Regions from separate parts of the Homo sapiens genome. Here regions 1 and 3 are each linked to region 2. The links are contacts of gene promoters, found by promoter capture Hi-C in human tissues and cell types (Jung and others, 2019). All regions are on one chromosome and are shown on one strand. Each heading gives the region's core, a stretch centred on a gene start or on the middle of the fragment in contact. The rest is flanking DNA. Distances are from core to core; before and after follow the strand shown. Region 1 overlaps PEX14 (peroxisomal biogenesis factor 14). Region 2 holds the start of CASZ1 (castor zinc finger 1). Region 3 overlaps CENPS-CORT (CENPS-CORT readthrough).

What was found. Contacts are between HindIII fragments. The study calls those that stand out against the background at their distance.
Region 1: a fragment that was not itself captured here is called in contact with the fragment with the promoter of CASZ1 in region 2 in 5 of the 25 tissues and cell types used here (aorta, dorsolateral prefrontal cortex, mesenchymal stem cells and 2 more).
Region 3: a fragment that was not itself captured here is called in contact with the fragment with the promoter of CASZ1 in region 2 in 1 of the 25 tissues and cell types used here (pancreas).

The regions. Positions count from the first base shown.
Region 1 is chr1:10,489,237-10,492,912 of GRCh38, reverse strand. All of the region lies in intron 1 of PEX14 (peroxisomal biogenesis factor 14), which reads right to left. Among named protein-coding and RNA genes, the nearest start is that of PEX14, 16 kb to the right of the region's middle. The HindIII fragment of the contact is 3,285 bases long and covers 1-3,139 here.
Region 2 is chr1:10,795,304-10,798,941 of GRCh38, reverse strand. CASZ1 (castor zinc finger 1) reads left to right here and starts at 2,296. Exons shown (of 21, transcript NM_001079843.3): 1 at 2,296-2,378. The HindIII fragment of the contact is 29,932 bases long and covers 1-3,638 here.
Region 3 is chr1:10,450,682-10,454,582 of GRCh38, reverse strand. It overlaps CENPS-CORT (CENPS-CORT readthrough), which reads right to left. Exons shown (of 4, transcript NM_199006.3): 4 at 2,430-3,206. The coding sequence ends at 3,182. It overlaps CORT (cortistatin), which reads right to left. Exons shown (of 2, transcript NM_001302.5): 2 at 2,585-3,206. The coding sequence ends at 2,988. Among named protein-coding and RNA genes, the nearest start is that of CORT, 2.6 kb to the right of the region's middle. The HindIII fragment of the contact is 5,212 bases long and covers 1-3,901 here.

The DNA of each region.
Region 1 (3,676 bases), core at 248-2,747, 310 kb after region 2:
TTCAAGGACCTGAGCAGATGTGCAACTTTACATCTGTGTGACTATCGGACTGATGCCTGTCTCTCTCACCAGATTATAAACTCCACGTGTGCAGAAACTGCCTGTGTTTGCTTATCACTGTATCCCTGGGGGCTAGGACAGTGCCAGGCACAGAGGAGGCCTTCAATAGAAATTTGCTGAATGAATGAATGGGCAACAAAAAAACAGAACAATGGCAACAACTCAGCTGAATGGATTATTTAGATTCTTCCGTTCATTATCTTCCTGAGGGTTTCCTCTACTCCATTTGCTAGATACTAAGTGCTAACATTCACTTAGCTCTTTCCTCCTTTAATTCTCACAATAAGTATATCAAATTACTGCTGATGAGGAAACTGAGGCAAAAGAGGTTAAATAACTTGCCCATGATTACTCAGATAGTAACTGGTACTACAGGGATTTGAACCCTTCTACTTAATCAAAATAAGCAAGTTTTGTTTAAACCACATTTTATTAAGCAACAACCTTAATGCTACCCCATAAATAATAATGTAGGTTATTTGACCAGACAAAACACACAAAAGCAAACAGCTTTAGTATTTAGGAAGCCCCATTCTGACTTAACCCAAAACTTTCTTCCTAAAATAAAACTAATCACTATGAATTGTTTCCACCAAGGAACTGCTCTTAAAATTAGTTCATCCCTTGAATAGCTAGTATTTACCAGAGGGAAAAACTTCAAACAGTACACAGTGCCAAATAAGTCTCTTTCATCATAAACCCTTTAGTACCTTTTAAATTATAAGCCATGTAAATGAATTGTTTTAGAAAATTCAATATTAAAAGTAAAAAAGAAAGCTTCCCTCTCATTCCAACCCTAGGGGACCCACACTGACGCTGGTTCCTTATATATTCTGCCAAGGATATTCAAAGCATATAAGAAGCATGGCCGGCCGGGTGCAGTGGCTCATGCCTGTAATCCCAGCACTTCAGGAGGCCAAGGTGAGCGAATCACTTGAGGCCGGGAGTTAGAGATGAGCCTGGCCAACATGGCGAAACCCCGTCTCTACAAAAAAAATGCAAAAATAAGCTGGGTGTGGTGGTGCATGCCTGTAGTCCCAGCTACTCGGGAGGCAGAGGCACAATAATCGCTTGAACCCGGGAGGCGGAGGTTACAGTGAGCTGAGATCATGCCACTGCACTCCAATCTAGGTGACAGAGTGAGACTCTGTCTCCAAAAAAAAAAAAAAAAAAAAAAAGGAGCATGGCCAAGTGTGGCTTACACCTTAAACCCAGCACAGCACTCTGGGAGGGTACAATGGGAGGATCCCTTAAGGCCAGGAGTTTGAGACCAGCCTGGGCAACACAGCGAGACCCCATCTCTACAAAAAATTTAAAAATTAGCCGGGTGTGGTGGTGCATCCTATAGTCCCAGCTACTCAGGAGGCTCGCTTGATCCCAGGAGGCAGAGATTGCAGTGAGCTATGATGGTGCCATTGTATTCCAGCTTGGTCAACAGAGCAAGACTCTGTCTCAAAAAGAAAAAAAGGGTGCATGTGTATGCATATTCCTACCATGGAATTTGAAACAGCAACACTCCAAATTCCTCAAGTCATGGCTTCCCAGAGCCACAGTCCCAGTATGAAGCTGGGAATACAAATGTGAGCCACCACACCTGGCCTTTTTTTTATTTTTTTAATCATGGCCTACCCTGTGAACATTTTTTTAAAATCTTCCACCATGCTAGCTGTTTAAACAATCGAAGCAGGCCGGGCACAGTAGCTCACGCCTGTAATCCCAGCATTTTGGGAGGTCGAGGCAGGCAGATCACCTGGTCAGGAGTTCAAGACCAGCCTGGCCAACATAGCAAAACCTCATCTCCAACTGATCCTGGAAATCTTCACAGAGTAGTCCATGATTAAAAAAAAAAAAAAAACAAGGCCGGGCATGGTGGTTCACACCAGCACTTTGGGAGGCCGATGTGGGAGGATCGCTTGGGCCCAGGAGTTCGAGACCAGCCTGAGCAACATGGTAAAACCCTGTCTCTACTAAAAAATACAAAAATTTGCCACGCATGGTGGCACATGCCTGTAAGTCCCAACTACCCAGGAGGTTGAAGTGGGAGGATCAACTGAGCCCAGGAGGTTGAGGCTGTGGTGAGCTGTGATCACATCACTGCACTCCAGCCTGGGTAACAGAGTAAGACTGTCTCAGAAAAAAAAAAAAAAAAAAAGGCTTAGAAACCACCCACAGGCATCTATTGTAACGATGTAAGAAAAGGACCTAAGGCAATCCATGCCCAGGATCCTTAGAGGCCTGAATGGGGAGAGCAGGAAGAGAAGAAAGCAAAAGCAGAAAACTGCTTTAAAAAAACAAGTCAGGCAAAGACTACGGCGGCAGAGAGAGAAATGCTTTTCTTTTGGTAGAGACAAAGGTGCTCTCACTCCTGCTGCCAAGGCGCTGACCTTCCCCAACTGGAAGGCGTTCCCAGATCCTGACCTGCTGTCCAACAAAGAACAACCTCACAAGCAGCTCACAGATTTGAGCAACTGGCGAAAGCTCCAGGTCTAGGAGAACCCATCCTGCATCTGCCCAGTAACTGCGACTTCAGATAGGAGAACCCATCCTGCATCTGCCCGGTGACTGTGACTCCAGATAGGTCCTAAGCCAGTCTGTGTAGTTCTCTGCTGGGAAGAATAAGATTCGATCCCACCAATATCCTTTGAGATGCAGTGGCATGACAGAAAGTACACAAGCTTTGGCATTAAGAACTCAGTGATTTGGGGGCACGCTGCTCAACCTCTCTGAGCCTCAGTTTCCTCATCTATGGGAATAACGGGAATAATACCACCACCTCACATTTGGGATTAGAGGAGATGATAAGTTATTTCATGTCACTCCTCTGCTCAAAGTCAACCAATGCACTTCCACTTCGGGTCATGATGGAGTGATAGGGAACAGATTTGCCCTCCCACTGTAAACAACTAGAAAACTAAGCCAAATAAATAAAACCACTGTGTGTACACATTGGACAGCAGGCAGTGCAGGACTACGATCCCTGAAAGCAGAGAAACAAATTACTTGGGCCCTAAAATCACTCTGGCTTCCTGCCAGGAGACACATTTCAGGCCCTGGAGAGAGACGGGGATCCCCAGCAGAGCACGCCACCCACTTAAGTTGAAGAGACAGAGATCAGAGTTCAGGGAGGCCAAGGCAGCTGAAAGCTGCAGGACAGACTTCAGAAAGAAAGAGCTATGCAGAAAAAGTGGTCCAGAAATCTGTCTGGAGGTTCCCTCAGGTCTCTGCTGAATACTAAAATTTGTGCATGCATAGGGTGAAACTCCACAGTGAAGAAGAAGCTAGGAGCTGACATTTCTTAGAACTCTCAGGGGAATCATGAGTCCCAAGCAGCCAGACTGGAGTGTCCTCACAGGGCATTCAGGAGAGACCAGAGGTCAAATGATCCCTAGATTAAAGATTATCCAGATCCACTCTAACAAAGCTAAAAAACAGGACTCAAAATGATAACAGTAAACCATAAAAAACTGCACAGAAGAAAAAAGCTTTAAGCACTCTTTAAAGACCACAAAATCCATAACCTCAACAATACTGAACTCACAATATCCAGCATCCAATAAAAAATTTCAACACATGGCCAGGCACGGTAGCTCACGCCTGTAATCCCAGCACTTTGGGA
Region 2 (3,638 bases), core at 1,047-3,546:
TGGCATTTATCGATCAATATCTTGGCCCAGGCCCTTTTCCTGCATTAACTCATTTTAGCTTCTCAACAATCCCAGGCAGTAGGTACTATTATTATCCCCATTTTACTGTGGAGGCAACTGAGGCACAGACGGGTCAAATGCCTTCCTCAAGGTCACCCAGCTGGTGGAGCGGTAGGGTCTCACCCCCAAGCCCAAGCTGCTAACCCCTTCTTTACGCTGCCCCAGGAGTGGACTCAGCCGTGAGCCAATAAGGTAGAAGAGCTACCTTGCCACTTCTCAGGTTACTGCCCCTCACTGTGCCTCAGTTTCTCCTTCTGTAGGATGACAAGATTGGGCTTGAGATCTCTGGGGCTGTGCATCCTGCTAAGTCACCAGGCACAAGGGTCTTAGAGATGGTGGGTGAGCCCTCAACCCCTGAGAGCTGAGAATGCCTTGGATGGTGGGGGCGGCAATGGAGAGTAACCAATCAGTGGTCTTTGAGGGATGTTAATTATCGTTGTGTTGCTGCTTCCAGTCAATTATTGGGATAAGGAGGGGGGAAAACAAAATGAACCCGAAACATGTGTCTAATGTCTAAATCTGGCTTTCCTGTGTGGACAGATCCTGAATGGACCCCCAGAACTATTCCAGGAAGTGAGGAGCTGGTTTTTTGAGCTGGTTTCTTCCCCAGTCCATCTAACACAAGCAAATATCACTGAGTATCTAAGGAGTGTGGGATGGCTCAGCTTCCTCTCCCAAATTTGTTGGCTTTATTAGGGCACAGGGCAAATCCTGGCCTCCTCAGGGCCAGAGGGCCATCATGTCTCCAGTCTGTGTCCATATGCTTCTGGACAATTAACTTCCAGTTTAAGGCAGGACATGGGAATGCATCCCGGAAGATGCTTGTCTTAGACAATCATCATACAGGGTTTTGGGTCGTTTCTCTGGTCCTGAGAGGCTTTCCTGACACCTTGCAGATTAGGCTCCAAATACTACCAGCCTGCAACAATGTTTACCAGCCTGTGGCATTGCCTCTTAGTTTAATGCATTCTGTTGAGCAGGGCTTGAAGCTGTGGGTCATACTTTGAATTTATATTCATTTATTCCACAAATCATTGATCTATTTCGTTTACTGTTATGGTCAGTTTCTCACTTATCTCATCATCTGGGTGTTTTCAGTTTCTTTCATGCCTCTCGATATTTCCATCCCACGCTTATGCTGAAGGGAAAAGCAGCTCAGGCCTGGAATGAGGGGTGCGCTTGCTGAGAAAGGCAAGACCAGAGCTACAGGGCCTCAGCACTGAAGCTGACTACTAGGCTCAGCTGGTGTGGCCACCTCAAACCAACTGGGAAATGGGAAGTCTGGGTATGGGAGAAAAGGGGGTTTCTTCAATAAAGTATGAAAGTGCCCCTCAAAAGGCCCTTCCCCCCCATCTGGGGGCAAGGGGATTATCTCTCGCAAGACACTGCTTTGTTTTGTTTTGTCAGAAATGAGGTCTAGCTATGTTGCCCAAGCTGGTCTCGAACTCCTGGGCTCAACCGATGCTCCTGCCTCGGCCTCCCAAAGTGCTGGGATTACAGGCGTAAACCACCATGCCGGCCCCCAAGACACTTTTTAGCCTATTGCCTTGGTTTATTTTCTTCATGGATACTTTCACTCTCTGAAATAACATTATCCACTTGTTTTAATGTGTATTATCTGCCCCCCCCCCAGCCCCTCCATGTAAGGTTCATTCTGCACGGCCTATCTTGCTCACTTAAGGATTTATTTCTTGCACAATAGATTGAATGAAAAACTCCCTTGCAAAGAATAAGTGCAAAGCAGATATCAAACAGTGAGAACATTTCGTTCCTTTGGGTTCCACAGTTCTAACATTCTAACTTGCAAAAAAGAGCCAGTTCTTCTGTCGAAAGTGGGAACCGAACTCGGGCTCTCTCGGGGTTCAGAACAGGTGGAAAGTAACCCCCCCCCCCATCCCTTCTCTCTTTTCCCCTAGCCTCAACTCAACTCAGCTGGGGGGGGGTGTAGAAGCCTCTGGACCTGCAAAAGGGGGCCGAGCGCTCAGATGCTCCTCCGCAGGCCGTGCGACTCGCCGCGCGCACACGCTGAGCTCAGCCCGGGCGGTGGGTGGGAAGGATCCGGGAGGGGCAGGTCTGGGGGTGTGAGGGTGGAGCGGAGCCCGGCCCCGCGATCCGGCCCGGGTTTTGCATGCCACCCACTCGCCCGCCCGGCCGCGGAGAATTCCATAATCACAGCGGGCGAGAGCGGAGACTGGGAGCGAAAAATCCGGGATCCGGCAACTTTGGGCAGCGCATGCGCGCCCGCGGCGCTCCATCCCAAACACACACACATTTTTCCCCCGGACTTGGAAAGTCACCCAAAGCCGCCCCAAGTGCAGGTAAGAGACTCGGCGCTCCCTCCGCCGCGGCCCCCCCACGTCCCCCAGCTCCGCGGGCCTCCCGGGGCGCCTCCCCGTCTCTCCCCCTGTCCCGGTGCACCCCCCCCACCCCCGGGGCTGCCGCTTGCAGCAGGGAGCGGGCGAGCGAGCGAGCGAGCGAGCCAGCCAGCCAGCCTGCGATCGGCGGCTGCCACCCAACTCCGGCCGTGCGGAGGCAGGGGGCACGGAGGGCTGGCACCCGGGCGCGGGGCGGCGCGTTGCCTGCCGTGGCCAGGGGAATGCCCGGCGCGCGGCTCCGGGGGAGGGGAGGGCTGCTCCTCCTGGGGGTCGCTTACTCCAACTGAGGGGGTGGCGGGGTAGGGGAGAAGAGAGGGAGGTGCCAGGCGCGAGCACAGGACTTTGCAAATAGGGTGGGGGCGCCCCACGCGCTGTGGGCTCCCGGGGGGGCAGGTGATCTCCAATACCGGGTAATCACTCCTTCCCCTTAAACCCCCACCCCACCCCACCCCCCAGCAGCAGAGGGGTCGTGCGCTCTCCAGGGCAGAGAAGGAGGCGGGGTGAGGGGTGCCTGGGGTGACTTTGCAAGACTTTGCCCATGGGAAGGGGTGGGTGGGGAACCCCTCCAGCCGGCTCTTGTGCCCGGATACCGGGTGTAGGTGCTGCCAGCAGAGGTAGGCAGTGTTCGCTTAGGCGCGGGGTGCCAAAGGGTATCCCCCATAGGAAATCGAAGGCAAGAGATTTCTTAGATGGGGGGAGCGGCGCCCCCTTTTTCATCTGTGCCTGGGAAGTTTATCTCAAGTGCGCTGCTCCAGGCGCGGCAAGTGGCGTTCCTCACTCCCTTCCCCACCCCACCCCCTGCCTCCCCAGCTGAAGGGCTGGCAACACAGGGCACGGGGAGCCGGGGCATCGGCCCAGAGCTGCCCGGCTGTCGGCTGGAGCCCGCCTGGGTCCCGGGGAAAGTTCGGGCGAGTTGTTGCCGGCTGTTGTGTGCGCCAGAAGAGAAGTTGCGCCCGGGGACGTGGGACGCTGGGCTGGCGGGCTAGCGGGCTGGTAGAGTGGTGCGCTCCGGGGGGGCTCTGCAGCGTGGGAGAGGGTCGGTCGGGGTCTGTTCCCCCAGGGTGGGCTGAGGGTGACCTCGGAGCTCAACAATTGGGGAGGAGGAGCCCTGAATCCAAGGGCACAGGGCTGAAATAGGCACCTGGTGAAGGACAGAGAAAAAAGTAGTTTGTGGGGGCGCAGGGAACACCAAAGGGAGAGAGC
Region 3 (3,901 bases), core at 307-2,806, 340 kb after region 2:
CCGCACCTGGCCAGGTATTTCTTTATAGCAGCACAAGAACGGCCTAAAACATTCCAAATGAAACCTCTCTCTCTATGGAAAACGCTACTGTTTTTAAGATGGGCTGCCCCTGGCCAGGCGCGGTGGTTCATACCTGTAATCCCAGCACTTTGGGAGGCTGAGGTGGGTGGATCACAAGGTCAGGAGATCGAGACCATCCTGGCTAACACGGTGAAACCCCATCTCTACAAAAAAATAGAAAAAATTAGCTGGGTGTGGTGGCGGGTGCCTGTAGTCCCAGCTACTCGGGAGGCTGAGACAGAAGAATGACCTGAGCCCGGGAGGTGGAGCTTACAGTGAGCCAAGATCACTTCACTGCACTCCAGCCTGGGTGGCAGAGGGAGACTCTGTCTCAAAAAAAAAAAAAAAAAAAAAAAGACGGGCTGCCCTTCAACAGGTGCTGCTTACATCAAGGTAAGTATCTCCCCTGAGCTTCCCAGTCTGAGGAGTTTCCTAAAGCCTGGAATCCTTTGCTGCCAGCCCTGAAATAGGAAAGCTGTGAGTGTCTGTTGTCCTTCATTCCTCCTCAGCAGTTAGGGAGCTGTTCTGGTGCCAAATCCTGGACAAAATAACAAGAGCATGAACTTGAAGTTGCCCAGGGCCTGATTACCCAGATCTACACACCTGACTCTACTGAACTACAGAAAAGGCCACCAAAAACCAGATGGTGGGAAATGACCATTTTACCCTGATTTATTAATCACAAGCATATTCATCTGGTCTAACATGCAGCTGATGCCAGTTAATGTCGTATGAAGTCCCCTGAACTAAGGTAGGCTTAGACTTGAATTTCCTGGCAGTAGCACTAGTAGAGCCTCATTATCCTACAGATAACTACTTAGTTAAAAGGTAAAATCCCCAATCTTAAAGTCTGTGTGGATGACCCCAATGTATTTTATTTTTTGAGACGGAGTCTCACTCTGTCGCCCAGGCTGGAGTGCAGTGGCACAATCTTGGCTCACTGCAATCTCTGCCTCCCGGGTTAAGGTGATTCTCCTGCCTCAGCCTCCTGAGTAGCTGGGATTACAGGTATGTGCCACCAAGCCCGGCTAATTTTTGGTGTTTTTAGTAGAGACAGGGTTTCACCACGTTGATCAGGCTGGTCTTGAACACCCGACCTCAGGTGATCCACCCAGCTCGGCCTCCCAAGGTGCTGGGATTACAGGTGTGAGCCACCACGCCCAGCCCCTATTTTATCTTATTTTACTATTATTTTTGAGACAGAGTCTCGTTCTGTCACCCAGGCTGGAGTACAGTGGCATGACCTCGGCTCACTACAACTTCCGCCTCCCAGGCTCAAGTGATTCTCGTGCCTCAGCCTCCCAAGTAGCTGGGATTACAGGGGTGCACCATCACGCCTGGGTAATTTTTGTATTTTTAGTCGAGACAGGGTTTCATCATGTTGGCCAGGCTGGTCTCGAACTCCTGGCCTCAAGTGATCTGCCTGCCTCAACCTCCCACAGTGCTGGGATTACAGGCATGAGCCACCGCGCCCTGCCGACCCCAATTTAAAAACTGAAAAACAATAAGCATGGCTTCTTTCTAGAAAAAATCTTTAAAAAAAACAAAGTTCTGGAAGGTTAGCTGGCCTTTCAGGCAGGCATCTTCCACCAGTGCACTGACCCAATTCCTGGTCTCCTAAAGCTGCTGTGTTTGGAAACGTGGATGCTATTAAGTCTCTTCCATCACATTATACTTTATTCAGCTAGTAATTATGAATATGAGCTCAGCTCGGCAGAAAACAACGGACGGTCAGCAGCCATTCTCAGGGAGTCCGCTCCCCTGGTGTCCAGAGAAGAGAATATTCCCGTGTCCTCCAGCCAGCCTTTGCTGGTTTTCCCAATGAAGTTTAGCATCGAAAAACCTTCATGGCCAGGCGCAGTGGCTCACGCTGGTAATCCCAGCACTTTCTGAGGCCAAGGCAGGTGGATCACCTGAAGCCAGGAGTTCGAGACCAGCCTGACCAACATGGAGAAACCCCGTCTCTACTAAAAATACAAAAATTAGCCAGGCGTGGTGGTGTGTGCCTGTAGTCCCAGCTACTTGGGAGGCTGAGGCAGGAGAGTCACTTGAACCTCGGAGGCGGAAGCCACAGTGAGCTGAGACCGTGCCATAGCACTCCAGCCTGGGCAACAAAAGCGAAACTCCATCTAAAAAAAAAAAAAAAAAAATTAGCCAGGCATGGAAGCGCATGCTGTAGTCCCAGCTACTCAGGAGGCTGAGGCAGGAGAATCACATGAACCTGGGAGGCGGAAGTTGCAGTGAGCTGAGACCGCGCCATAGCACTCCAGCCTGGGTGACAGCTAGACTCCGTCTCAAAAAAAAAAAAATTCTGTGGGTAGCCTTCATTCCTCCCAAAGCAAATCTGAAGCTATAATCCATGAAAAGAATTGCAACCCATTAAGCTACTAATTAAAACTGGTACATAACAGCAAGTTCGAGTATCAGTTTCACAGGCATGTCAGCAGGTTTTCTGTTTAATATGTTTTAAAATTAATTTCAGCTAAAACATGAGGAATAATCATTTTGCTCTTCGAGCCTGATATTAAAAATTTGCTTTTAATGTGAGGGAAATATTTTTTAAATTAGACAATTCATATCAATTCATAAACTGAAATAAGATGTTATTCTGAACTCTTAATTGTGTAGCCTTTAGCTATTTTATTTTAAATCAAAGACAGAGCTTCCCAGCACCATAATGAACATCAGAAGAAAAGCCCAGTGCCCGCACTCAGCACAGTCCAGTCGAACCACAAAAAAATCTTTATCAAAGATCTTCACTTTGGGTTCCAAATTACTCAAGACACGTCAGTATTGGGCATTATTGGAATTTAAATAACAAACACTTTTCAAATGACTTGGGAAGGAGGAGAGGAAAGATCACTGCTGCTTAATACATTTTATTCAGGTCTGTCATTACACTTGCGTGAGCATTCATGGGTGAGGTTTTATTTGCAGGAGGAGAAGGTCTTCCAGAAGAAGTTCCTGCAGGGCATTCTGTCCCGGCGCGCAGATTGCTGGGGGGGTGCGCCTTCCTGCCGCCTGGCCACCTCCCGGGCTTCCTCTCCTATGAGGGGCCCGGCACTGGCCTGGGAGGTCCACTCAAACCACCAAGCGAGGAAAGTCAGGAGGCTGCTTTTCCTTATTCCTGCCGCTTCCTGCATATGCTTTTAAAGAGAAGCAGATGGCAAAGGAAAGAAAACTCAGCAATCTGGCTCAGGCAGCAAGCATTCAAAGATATGCAATCTCCTCCTTACTTAAAAAAAAAAATGATCTAAAAGACTACCCTGGAGAAAAGAGAAAGAAAATATTAAAATGAAAAGATGCTCCATAGCGATAAGCCTCATTTCCATTTAACGGATGAGGATGAGAAAGTGAAGAGAATACCTTAAAGAAATTGCTTTAATTAGAGAAAAGTTGGTCATTTTAAGTCAAGGGAAGAAACCTGGTTTTGCTCCATACTCTGCTAAGGTCCTTAATTAGGAGAGGTCGGGAAATCTGCCATTTTCCCCTCAGTGACTGGCAGCTGAGAAGCCCGGAGTTGGATCAGGCTAATTTACTCATTCTCCCACCTTTGGCCACACTCCTGGATGTTCACAAGTTGCTTTCTGAGACGATGGGACTGAAACAAACGTTATATTCTGGTTTTTCAAATTCCTTAGAAAGCTTCTGGGAGTAATCTGCTGATAAATGGCCTGCCTGAAACTCATCTGGTAATTTTAGAGAAAAATCCATTTTTAATGCTCAACTTTATATACCCTTTCTTGGAACTTTCTCAAAATGGAAAAAAGAACAATCAATCACCTCACGAAGTTACAAATTCTCACAACGGAAAATGTAATGATGCCAATTACTCTGAGCC